3 separate regions of the Homo sapiens genome follow, and all the other regions are linked to region 2. The links are contacts of gene promoters, found by promoter capture Hi-C in blood cells and fetal thymus (Javierre and others, 2016). All regions are on one chromosome and are shown on one strand. Each heading gives the region's core, a stretch centred on a gene start or on the middle of the fragment in contact. The rest is flanking DNA. Distances are from core to core; before and after follow the strand shown. Region 1 overlaps MRPS27 (mitochondrial ribosomal protein S27). Region 2 holds the start of TNPO1 (transportin 1). Region 3 overlaps MRPS27 (mitochondrial ribosomal protein S27).

Region 1 (4,139 bases), core at 1,009-3,508, 510 kb before region 2:
CAAAGCCAGCATCTAATGAATAACATTTGCATTTTCCAAGTCAGAGAAAGGTTTGCTGCTAAATATATCATGTGGCCAATCACCTCACAGTATAGCACTGCCGTGATGAATGAGGCAGAAAACTGCACAGAGCAGGGACGGCCAGGAAAGCTGGGACAGCTGCGGCGTGCAGAGGGCCAGCGCCACAGGCTTCTGGACTGTGGGCTTCCACAGTCAAAATCCCACCTCATGTTTCAGTGAGGGGCCAGCAGATGCCCAGGTTTTGTTCAAAGAGATGTGCCAAAGAAGATACTTTTTTGCTTGCTATTCAGCTCCTCAGGAATACATACTGTGGCAGATGGTTGTGGACAACAGACTATATGGGAAAATGGATCTGAAATTTGAATTCTTCATTTAACAAAACTTGAAGCTAGACAGACAATGTGGAAGTATGTCCAGAAAATAAAATGTATACTAAAAATGCCCTTCCCATTTGAAGAAAGCAATACTATTAACGATCTCAGAATATACAAGATTGTATTGAGAACCCTGCACTATTCCCAGTAAGAGTGCAATGGCCCACAAGCCTGGGTGAGGATTCAGATTGCCTGAGGGGCTTTAAAACTTCAGATTCCTAGGATTCTTTTCACCCAGAGGGAGACTCTAATTCCCTGGGTTTGAGGTAGCACGAGAGACTTAAACAATAGCCCCAGAAGATTGTAGCCAATCAAGCACGTCAGTTATGTTTGGGAGCAACCATGGGAGGGAACACAAAAGAAGTCTTAGATGTTGCTCCTAAGCTCAAAGAAGATACTGAATAGGAATTCCATTGCTGGAATAAAATGAATTAAATATCTTTAAAAAATTCCTCCTACTATAAAAATAAAACAAAATATCAATTTTCCCCCAAATATATGACTGAGCTTTCAAGAAGGTAGATGTAACTGTCAGAGGCCAAAGGCAAGATGGAAACATGAACTTGGAGTGTTTAGAGGAGCAGTCCCTTTGAGGGGAGCAGTCCTTTTGAGAGCATGTGATGATCTACAGTGATGGAGAGCTTTAGTTTCAGTGACTTATGGGGACAGAGGATAAAACCAATACTTGTAAGATGAGAAGCTTGTTCAGAGATCCTCAGGTAAAGCCAGGACCACCTAAGGGAACTACACCTGAAGTGAAAAGGTAAAACTTATCACTACAATAATGCACCCTAAAAAGTAAACAACCGGGACACTTGTCCCCTGAAGATTATAAACTACAAGTCAGCCCTCATGCCTCTTTGGGGATTTAATCCACTCTTCTTTTGTGATCCAAAATATACCAAGCTGAGAATTTTGTTTGAAGAGTTGACTTCACTATATAAAATTCTAAAAATTGTGAACTATTCTATAGAAACAAAAAAGCATATCCATGGTTGCCTGGGAATTTGGGGTATAGGGCCAGAAGCGGAAGGAGAAAAGGGTTAAAGAATAGGAGAAAACTTTGGCAGGTGACACATATGCTCATTATCTTGATCATGGAGATGACTTTATGGACATATACACCTGTACATTGGTCAAAACTGATCAAATTGTACATTTAAATATACATAGTTTATTTTATGTGAAGAATACCTCATCAAAGCTGTAAAAAGTAAACAATGAATAAGTTAAAAAGCAGGTTAGACACAGGTGAAGTGAGAGTGAACTGAAAGGCAGATAATTACACAGAATGCTGCAAAGATAAAAATGAGAACTGTAAAAGAGCAAAGATATAGAAATATGAATAAGAATGTATGATGAGACAATGATGAGAATTTTTTAGAATTGATAAAAAATATAGGTTTCTAGATTCAGGATATGTATACAATCTCAAGTCAAAAAAGTAAAATTATTATTTCAAAAACGATGAATGAGAGGATCTCAAAAGTGGCCAGAAAGAAAAGAGAAATTACAAAGAAAGAAACAACTATACTAACAGGTGTTTTCTCAATAGGAATGATAAAATCCAGAAAATAGAATAAAATGTTCAAAATGTTGCAAGTATAAACTATCAACCTAAAATTGCATATCTAGCAAGATTATCTTTAAAAAATAAGGGCAAAATATGGGTATGCTGGCATGTGCTTGTAGACCCAGCTACTCAGGAGGCTGAGGTGGGAGGATCACTTAAGCCCAGGAGTTGGAGGCCAGTGTGGGCAACACAGCAAGACCTCATCTCAAAAAAAAAAAAAAAAAAAAAAAGATAAGGGCGAAATGAAGACATTTTTGGACAAACAAAAACAGAAAATGTATTAGCAACAAATACTAAAGGAAATTTTTAGAACTCAATAAAATTGGTTAAATTGGGGGGGAACTGACTGTTTAAAATAATGTTATATGTGTTTTAAAGGATAAAACTTTATTATTAGACAAGAGCATATGGTTAGATGTGTGTGTGTGGACCTAAGGTGTCCTAAAGGATAGTAGAGTGTGATGAGCATTACAATTTAAGCTAGATATGCATTTTAGAAGTTAAAGGGCAACAATCTCTAAAAAAGTAGAGGATATAATCTCCAGACCAGTGGAGGGGAAAAAAACGTAAAAAACAAAAACAATCCAAAAGTAAAAATCAATCCAAAAATAAAAAATAAAGAAAAAAAAGAAAGATGAAACCAATCACAAAATGTGACAGAAATAAATCCAATTATATTGGTAATCATGAAATGATAATGTAAATAGACGAAATTTTCTAGTTAAAAGATAATGATTGTCAGATTGGTTAAAAATATAAAAGCTAGCTATATAAATCATATAAACACAGAAGAGTTGAAAATTATTAAAAACACACTAGGAAGCCAAAATAAAGCTGGTACAGTTGTATTAATATCAGACACAATAGATTACAGGCAAAAAGCAGTTTTATAGATTATGTGGGTCACTACATAATGACCAAAAATTCATTTTGCCAAGATAATTTTAACCTGGTGCACACCAAAGTAACACAGCTTCACAGTACATAACCACAAAATCTGTAGTACAGATGTGTTGAAAAACAAGCCTCTTAAAAAAGAGTGTGGTCTCTGGGGCAAAGTTGTGATAATGAAGGTCACTGAAGAAAAATATGAATCCTTTATTGAATCCTTCTAGCTTCAGGTGAGAAATGGTTTCAGTTTTTCTTTTCTACATAACTGCACATTACTGTTAACCTTTCAGGCAACACTAAACTCTTTCTGGGCTTATGGTCATCTGCATACCTTACCTAATTTATATAATAAAGAAACAGGTACAGATTATTATTGTCCTTCCTAGAAGAACTGATCTTGAAAAATACAGGCTGAAACTGTTTTTGTTTCCCACATTTTAAAAGAAAAACGAGGACACATGACATATATCATGCATTGAATATACAGAAGGAAGTATGGAAAACTAGCCTAGCAACCAATTTGGACATAGATTTTTAGACTTCCTTCTATTTGTCTGTCACCAGAAGCTTTAACATAAATAAATCCAATAAAGGAAAAACATGAAATCAAGCTTTGTGTACATATATATTAATGAGACTAAAGAACGGTGATGTGCACAAGTCAGACCCATCTCTAGAACTTGGCAAATATGGAAACTGGAAAATGAATAGATGCCACAGAGATGCAAATACAGAACTGACAAAAGTTAAGAAAGCAGACTTCAGAAAATCTCCATCAGGCCTCAAGAGCAGGATCTGAAATATTCATGCAAAAAGCCAAAGGCCTCTACAGCTGAAATGACACAGCAAAACTAAATCTCAGCTAAAATGGAAGAAGTGTCTGTAAGAGACAGACCTGAATGCAAATGTGTCAAGGAAATACTCTTTGGATTCAAAAAGGAGGTTCTCCAAAAACAAACCAACAGAAAACAAACCAACAAACCAAGAGAAACCAACACAAACAAGCAAAACAGTAACCCAAACCAAAATGTGTCCTATACTTTGTGATGTGAAAAATCACAAATAAAATATTTAATCCAGTAGGGCTCATGAATCCTGAATTCAGCTCAAGTCACCTGAGTGCTCGCTCCTTGTCAGAAAGACTCAAGAAAACTTCCTCTCATGGAACTCAAGGAGCTTCCCCATGAGGCCTGCCCTCCTACCAACACCCTACCCAGTTCCCCAGTGGTTTTCTCCTGAGTCCTGTTCACAGTGGATCCTATTCTGTTAACTAGTAAATG
Region 2 (4,185 bases), core at 1,147-3,646:
ATGTAACTTATCTTACTTAATCTTGTTTCAGACAAAAGAAAGTGAAGCTCAGAAAGACTGAGCCAAAAGCATTCATAAATGGTAAAGCCAGCATCTGCATATAGGTCCTCTGCCTGCAAGCTCCACACTTGTTTTAACAATGCTACACCTGACAAAATAAGCATCTTGTCATTCCTAGGTGAAAGCTTATAGGTATGTTTTCTCCCTCAGATGCTATTTTGTAACTTCTAACATGTTTTTATTTTTATCTTGGTAAATTTTTCACCTAAGAAAATAAAATTAATACAGAAATTTTAAATATATCTATGTTTTAAAGGTAAAAACAAAGTTTATAAATTTTAACTTCATTTTTGTCATTTAAAAATTATTAATAATTCTTCAAAGTTTTACCACATGAGCATATTTAGGTATAAAGAGAAAATACTACTGGATAGCTGCTATTATATGTGCAAACTGTCAAAGAAAAATAAAATAAGCCATGTTAATAAATCCTTGTTAATAAGATTTACTGTTTAAAACATGTTTTTTTAATTTGACCTAGAAGAGACAAAAAGGCTACATGTGTAAGAATCTCTATTCAACAGAACTATTTTATATTAGTATTTTCATTCACTTTAATTTTTACAAAAGAATACATATTTAATTTGCTTAATCTCAATTTTACAACATCTGATAATCAACATTTTTTTCTTTCAAAATGTTTTGGCCAATAAATCCTCTTATGCTAAATAATATGTTACTTTTTCTTCAATTCATTTCAGCTATTTCCAAACTATTAATCAAGTGAACTCCTACTAATTGCTTAGTCAGTAGTATTTACATCTGTCATTATTTGCTAATCTTTTGGATTTTAGAAATATTTGTGTTTTTTCCTTTAGCAAAGTAGAATGCAAATACTACACATCTTCTGATTTGTATAGATCCTAGTCCACGATGTAACTTTTCAAATGCAGAAATAAGCCATTTGTTATTTGGATAAATATACTTTTTCTGGGTATATTTTCCTGCAGATAAACTACCATTCAGAAAAGTTTATATTACATTTTTTTCTTGGTAATCTACTCCTATTTGGGGGGGGGGGCTCTTTTTGATATACACTACTGTATCCAATTACTATCAAATTAATATTATAACATGTTGAAATCATGAATATTTTAGTTATCTATATTTTCCCTTGCTAAGTTCAATTTCCCAATGATTAAAAAATGGTACTTTTAGTCTCAAATTTTAAGTTAAATAAACTAGTTGTTCCTGCAAAATGACTGTAATTCAAATGAAAATTGTTAACACGTTTAGAAGAACAAATAAATTACCTTAGTAAAAATTTAGACATTTTCTAGTATTATGTACTGTAATTTTACCTAAACTATGACAGGAAGGCAACAACTGTCACACATTTTCAAAATATATACAGCACTTCCAGTAAGATAGTCGGAACTGCTGGTATTTCTACTCACACTGATCATGTGAGGAATATTATCACGGGCATCATCACCTTAGAAAATAAAAATCAGCTAGCTATGCAAATTTTAAGTATTTTTATACAGTAAATTTTACATATAAGAATAATCTGAGGGAAGGAAACTGATATTTATCTCATTACCCTTGTTGCAGTTGGGTATAAAAACGTCCACCACTCCCATTTTGAATCATTTGCCGTACAGAAAATACAGGACATTTTAATTTCTCATGATGGCAGGTTAGGGAGAGAAAGGCTTGTTATTTCTAAGAGCAAGAAACTACAGTTTTATAGGATTGAACACCTGGAGGCGTAAACATTTTATAAATCACTGAATTCTAATTACATAGTAGTTTATACGCCAGATACAACATACGTCAAAAGCCTATCTTGTTCTAAGCGGGCAGCCATCCACCGGCGTCTACCTACCGAAGCCATTTCTGCTTTTTACCAGCGACGCTGGAACAGTGTTATTGTGGGATATGTTCAGTGTTGAACAGGCTCCCAGGGCACGGCTGTTACTTTGGAGGTTATGCTGGGGTACAGAAGTTAGGCTGGGGCAGGGCCATCCACCTAGGAGGGCCCAGCACAGTCTGGGCAACCACACCGGCGGGCCGTTTTGCTCACAGCCCCACCGCGCCGGGCAGCGTCTGCAGCTGCTGCGTGCGAGACCCAGAGGCTCCGGTCAGCGCGCCGGCCGCAGGGAGTGCGAGCACTTGTGAGCCCCGCGCCGGGCCGGTGAAGTCTGGTGCTGCCGAGCCCGCTTAGAAAGCACGGCCGCGCGCTGTCGGACGCAGGCCCACAGGCCCAGCCGACCCAGGCAGCAATTTTCCTAGCCCCGCCGCCGTTGCCAAGGCGACCGCCGCCGAATGTTCCCGCCGCGGGCTCCGCCCCCCGGCCAATCGGACCGGCGCTCGGTGAAGCCCAGATTCTCTTTGTTCCGCAGCCATTTCAGGCCCCGGACAGGAGGCAGTGCCGCTTCGGCCGAAGGCCCGAGCGCCCGAGGCGTCTGGGATGGTGTGGGACCGGGTAGGTGGCGTGAGGGTGCGCGGCCCCGAACTGCAGGGGCGGGAACGGAGGCTGGGAGCGCCGAGCTGCCTGACGCGCCTACGGGAGAGACGCCGGGCTCGCCCGCTCTCTCGGCGCCTGCCCGGCCGTTTGAAGCCGAGAGGCAGCGGCGGCGCGGTTCTAACCCCAACAGCTGCCCGCCCAGGCGCCCTGCGGGACCCGGGTAGGGAGCAGGCGACGGCGGCTCCTCAAGCGTCCGAGGATCCCGTTAGGGGCGGCAGGAGCCCGTTACAAGGGGCGGGAAGGGAAGGGTCTTACATTCAGGGGAGCGTTTGCCTCGCCTGTTAAGCTGTGGCGTTTGAGGGCCCTTGAGTGCTGCAGTCGGCTGCCCCGGGACGGCTGCCTTTCACTGGTTCTGGGCGCTGGCCGGCGCTGCCCGAGATGGGCCAGTCTTTGTCCCGCCCTGGGCCCCTCTGCCCGGGTCTCCTGCGTCCGCACACAGCGCCCATCGTCCTTACATGCAGCTTGCCGTTCTCTTCCTCCCGGCGGTTCTTTCTCCTTGGGGCCTCTTGGCCTCACGACATGTTTACATAATGTTTGTGACTGTACGAGTTTTGCGTGGGCTTGTGGGTTTTGCCCTTCTACCTCCACTCCCATGCGTACAAGCAACAGGGAACAGCTGCTGAGGAGCAGATTGGCCACCACAATCAAGCTATTTTCGGAATGACTTTCTTTAAAAATGATCGCGTGTTGCTTACTGATTTTAAAAATCAACTGGATTTTGCAAGGATTGCTTAGAGTTTAAGTCTGTTATCTTAATCGCTAATCAGGATGGTCTATCAGTAGATGTAAATGTAGAAATTTGAAATTGGAGGCTATCTACAAATTGATTTTGACAGCTGTATTAAGAAGCTTAATAACTGTCCTTTGAAACAGTAATGACTTAAATGATGAATGTGTAAGTGGTACTTTTTTTACCCTAAAGAAAAGATACTTTTAAAATTGCAAGATGTATGGTGTAATAGGTGTTTGGAAATGAAGGTTGTAAAATGGCTGTCCTGACGTACTACTCACTTTTAGAATAACAAAAGTTCCTGCAGCTTTTTAAGTTTCCCTGTTATATCAAAGCTTTCATGTTAGAGTGGTGAAGAAGCTATGTTTAGTGGAAAAGGGGAAAGTTCCGTTTTTTGGGAAAGGATCTGTTTTCCACTTTCACCTTACCTGGCACCGTAGTTGTTCCTAGAGAAGGCTGTGCCAGGATGAAAATTAGCAACCACAAAAGGGAAACAATAGTTTGTAGGTGCAGATATCTTTTTTAGTCTCTAGCTATGCAGTGCATAAATTTATACTAGCTTGGCAGTACGATTTTTACTTCATGCAATTTAACGTGAGCCTAATGAAGTACTAGTGTTCTGTTTTCTTTTTCCTAAAAGGGGCCGCCACCCTTGATGTGGCTGCATCTTTCTCCTAGTCAGGAATTATTAAATTCCTCCCACTGAAATATCTATAAAAATCTTGTTTGCACTTCTACCTCAACTCTCAGTGGCTTTATTACCATTATATAATGTGAGCAGAATAAGATTTTTGTAAAAATACATGATTCTAGTTGTAAGCTTTTCCAATATCAACATTTCTTATTGTATTCATTGTTTTTATGACTGTAGTTTTGCTTATTTATAATTTTAAAGCCATTCCATGAACTCAGTTTTTCTAAATGT
Region 3 (4,039 bases), core at 458-2,957, 530 kb before region 2:
AATACCCTAAAGCACAGGCACTATTTTAACACTCATTTTATGAGGGAGGAAATGGATGGCACATTCGACATTCAAATCCAGGCACTCTGGCTCAAGTCCATACTCTTGTCTACTATACTATACTGTGTCTCAGGTAAAGAGAAAGAAAGAAATATTTTTGACAGAAGACAAAACAAAATAAGTAAGCACCCCTGAATAGGTAAAACAAAATTTTATAGATGGGTCAGAGAGATCACATTCAACCGTGAAAATCAGGGTAAGTTTATGAGTGTAGCAGAATTTGGGACAGGCCTTAAAACACAGGCTGTATTCTGTTAGAAAGAGACAGTGGGGAGGGAAGAGCATAGGCAAGATATGAAAGTAGAAGGCACATTCAGAGAACAGTAGTCCATTCCAACTGGAGTCTGAAAGCACTGTGTAAGTGTGTAAGTCTGTTATTACCTGCTATTATTCAGCAAATGGAGGACTATACTAATCTATACGTATGAGATGCACAAAGTTCTCACTTGAACACATAATTTCAGTGTTTGACTTATCAAAACTCTGCCAAGATTTTTACCAATGAAGACTAATGATTGAGTTTCACCTCTTGGTAGTGTCCATCACTGAACTATGTAACAGCCAGTGCATAATGAATACACTGTTCATGTGCTGTAATGATCTGGTGTTGGAAGACCTAGTTTTAAGTCCCAGCTTTGCCTATTACTAGGTATAAAATGGTGATACTATTTGTCTTAAAATCAGCATTGCTATTAAAAAAACAGAATAGACCTCAAAATGTAAAATCTGCCTGTTCAAAACAAACATACCTGGAAATCTATCATGAAAATGAAAGCAGCCTAGACCACTAAACAGAATTCACATCAAATACTTCTAGCTCCTCAGATGTCCTCTTGCCTAGACACACAGCATCTGGAAATACTCAGGAATTTATTTGCCTTTGGCCTCAAAAACCATGATGCAATCAACTGAAACTTCTGTTCCCATAAATCTCTCCTTGAAGCTTCTGTTTATCTACTCAGCTCTCCCTTAAATATTATACCAGTTTCTGAAACGATCTCTTAATTATTTTCAAATCAAACTGCGTTACACTTAAAACCCTACTGAAGTAGGGTTTATATAATAAATATAAAACTATATTTTAGTTATGCCTTTCTCATTGCCCTGTAGCTATAATTCCTGGTACCTTAATTTGACTTTACAATTATAAAAATAGGCAGGAGAAATATTTTTCAATAAAAGGGGTTTATACTGTAGAAAAAAAAGAACTTGGATACATATTCTTATGTGAAATTTTAGGAGTTTAAGGTTTAATTTACAAATGGTTCTGTAGCTATTAGAACAGATTTACTTTAGCCTTCTCCTTTTAAATCTCATGTATATACAAGGCATCAAAAACATGTGGTTTGTGGGCCTTGCAGGAAAAAGGCAAGTACATATGTATAAAAATTAGTTACCTAGAGGATAAATAAGAGTGGATACCCAACTTCTCATACCACAAAATTTACTAAATATATTCACAAACAAGATAGTAAATGAAGTCTGTCACCTAAATCCAGAAGAGAATAAGAGATCTTCTACCCTTTCTGTTGTTTACTTTTACATCTATTAGTTTTTCTCTTGATATTCATAGTTAAGGCGGCTGGAACTTCAATTTTAAAGTGAATAAAATTCTGCGTGAGAAACTAAACAAAAAGCCAGAGCTACATGCTTTCAAAGTCTGAGGCATCTGGTGATAAAATCTTATCAGTGACATTAAGAAACATTATGTTTTAGCTATGGGAAGTGCCTTGGGAGGCATCCAAGATGATCTGCTCATCTAGAAAGCTGATGTCCAGAGAGTTCACTAACTAGTTCAAAGCTACAGATCAAAGTGGGGACTAAACTGGTCCTAAGACCCCAGTCACCTCTTTCTTCCCATCCTGACTCCTTCAGGGTCTTTTTAGTACCTCCCCCACAAGATAATACATTTTCATTGTTGAATTTCTTTTTATGTTAATTTTTTTCTAGGTTTAATTAATTCTATGTCACACTGTTAGGAGGTTTCAAAATGTTCATTGAGTCTGTATCTTTTGGTATATTACTGAAACTGCTTAGGAAAAAAAACTGACACAAAGAGATACACTGGGCTAGCTGATGAGCTTCTGAACTTGAAGTCAGGCCTCATCCACAGCTGGAGCTTGGACTTGTCACATGGCTCCAAGGGACTCACTTAGTCTATCCAGGTTGCAATTTCAGATTCCGGAAGTTGGCAGGACTTCAGAGGTCATCTGGTCTAAAATTTTCCAACTAGTGCCAATACACCAGGAAGACCCAATGGGTATGTTTTGGCAATTGTTCTTTCTCCAAAGGTCTGTGGCCAGTTCCTGTCAAACAGTCCAAGTATGGTCAAGTAGGCAAGATATGATCCAGCAAGCTTAGAAAGAAATGTGTACGTACAAAAAAAAAAGGCAAAAGAAAAACTCACCCTCTTGCTGCCTTCTAAATCTGCTTCCAATTCAATACTTCTATCATGTACAAGCCACTTTCCCACTGAGGTTCAATTTTCAGTTCATTTTTGACTCTCCTTGTTTTCTGTCTCTACATTCAACCTGCCATTAATCCTGCTGATCCAATTTTTTCCCTCCTATGTACATTTCTCTCTTTATTTCCACTGTCTACTACCACAGGACAGGTCTTTTTTCTCTATATGCATAGACAATTTCCTTATAACATTTACCAATTTTAATAAAAAATTTACCCTGTTATAAATCTTTCTGAAATACTTTTATTATGATATATACTTCTTAAGAATCTGCAGATGACTATCTTGAGGATCTTTTAAAAAATATTTTTTCAGGCTAGGTGTGGTGGCTCATGCCTATAATCCCAGCACTTTGGGAGGCCGAGGCAGGTGGATTGCTTGAGTCCAGGAGTTCAAGACCAGCCTGGGCAACATTGTGAGACCCCATCTCTAAAAAAAAAAAAAAAAACACCACCAAAAAGGCCAGGCATGGTGGCATACGCCTAAAGTCCTAGCTACCTGGGAGGCTGAGGTAGGACAATTGCCTGAGCCTGGGAAGTTGAGGGTACAGTGAGCTAAGATCCTGCCACTGCATGCCAGCCTGGGCAACAGAGTGAGACCCTGTCTTTAAATTAAAAAAAAAAAAAAAATTTGGTTAATTTCCTTCTGTGTGTGTGTGTGAGAGAGAGAGATGGAAAAAGAGAAGGGGGGAGGGAAGGGAAGGGAAGAAATGAAAAATATGTATTTTTTGAATAAGTAATATACACCCATGATATAAAATTCAAAAGTTACAAGAGACAATTCAATGAGAAGTCATCCAGGTTTCTTCCCTAAAAGAAACCAATGTTACCAGTTTTTGTGTGTATCATTCCAGAGATATTTTATGTACACACATACATATATACACATAAGCATCAAAGCACATGTATACATATTACACATAAACCACAGTGGCTACATCACACACTAAGTCCTACTCTTGTTTTTTTCACTTAATACATTTCACAATTTATTCAATAGGAAATACAAATAAAGCTTCCTCATTCTTTTCAATCACTGCACAGTATTCCACTGTACAGCTGTAGAATAATTAAACAGGCTTCTATTGATGGACGTAATCTTTTACTTTTTGCAATGGACATTTTTGGCATGAATATGAGTGTATCAGGAGGTTAAATTCCTAGAGGTGGAATTATTGGGCCAGAGGGTATTGTACTTATAATTTTGACAGATGCTGCCAAAGTTCTATCTATACAAGTTGTACCGATTTATATATCCACTAGCAATGTATGATAATGACAGATTTTGAACCCTCCCTTCTCTCCTGCCAACATTCTATTCCCTCTCTAATCTGCCTTCCTTATTTCTCATTATTCCCCAACAAACCCTGATCTCTCTGGTTAAGGCAGTTTCCATAAAGCTAGTTCTCACTTCCTCCTTCTAACTCCAGCTGTACGATTTGTTCCATCTTGAACACTTGCTCCTGTTTCCTCTACTCATCTAACCTTCAAGGCTATCTTAAGTTCTACCTCTTTT

What was found. Contacts are between HindIII fragments. The CHiCAGO score rates a contact against its expected background, and 5 or more counts as called.
Region 1: a contact is called between a fragment that was not itself captured here and the fragment with the promoter of TNPO1 in region 2, in 6 of 17 cell types (activated CD4 T cells, monocytes, naive CD4 T cells and 3 more). The highest score is 7.0, in activated CD4 T cells.
Region 3: a contact is called between a fragment that was not itself captured here and the fragment with the promoter of TNPO1 in region 2, in 1 of 17 cell types (M0 macrophages). The highest score is 6.1, in M0 macrophages.

Annotation. Positions count from the first base shown.
Region 1 is chr5:72,301,708-72,305,846 of GRCh38, forward strand. The region is part of intron 2 of MRPS27 (mitochondrial ribosomal protein S27); the gene reads right to left. Among named protein-coding and RNA genes, the nearest start is that of MRPS27, 16 kb to the right of the region's middle. RefSeq lists enhancers at 1-580, 140-369. The HindIII fragment of the contact is 2,331 bases long and covers 1,094-3,424 here.
Region 2 is chr5:72,814,265-72,818,449 of GRCh38, forward strand. It overlaps TNPO1 (transportin 1), which reads left to right and starts at 2,397. Exons shown (of 25, transcript NM_002270.4): 1 at 2,397-2,488. The coding sequence starts at 2,474. TNPO1-DT (TNPO1 divergent transcript) reads right to left here and starts at 2,284. Exons shown (of 9, transcript NR_186518.1): 1 at 1,889-2,284. RefSeq lists enhancers at 1,964-2,043, 3,124-3,173 and silencers at 2,304-2,403, 2,444-2,663. The HindIII fragment of the contact is 3,194 bases long and covers 184-3,377 here.
Region 3 is chr5:72,281,293-72,285,331 of GRCh38, forward strand. All of the region lies in intron 4 of MRPS27 (mitochondrial ribosomal protein S27), which reads right to left. LOC107986422 (a long non-coding RNA gene) reads right to left here. Exons shown (of 2, transcript XR_001742742.2): 2 at 1-2,366. Among named protein-coding and RNA genes, the nearest start is that of MRPS27, 37 kb to the right of the region's middle. The HindIII fragment of the contact is 1,413 bases long and covers 1,002-2,414 here.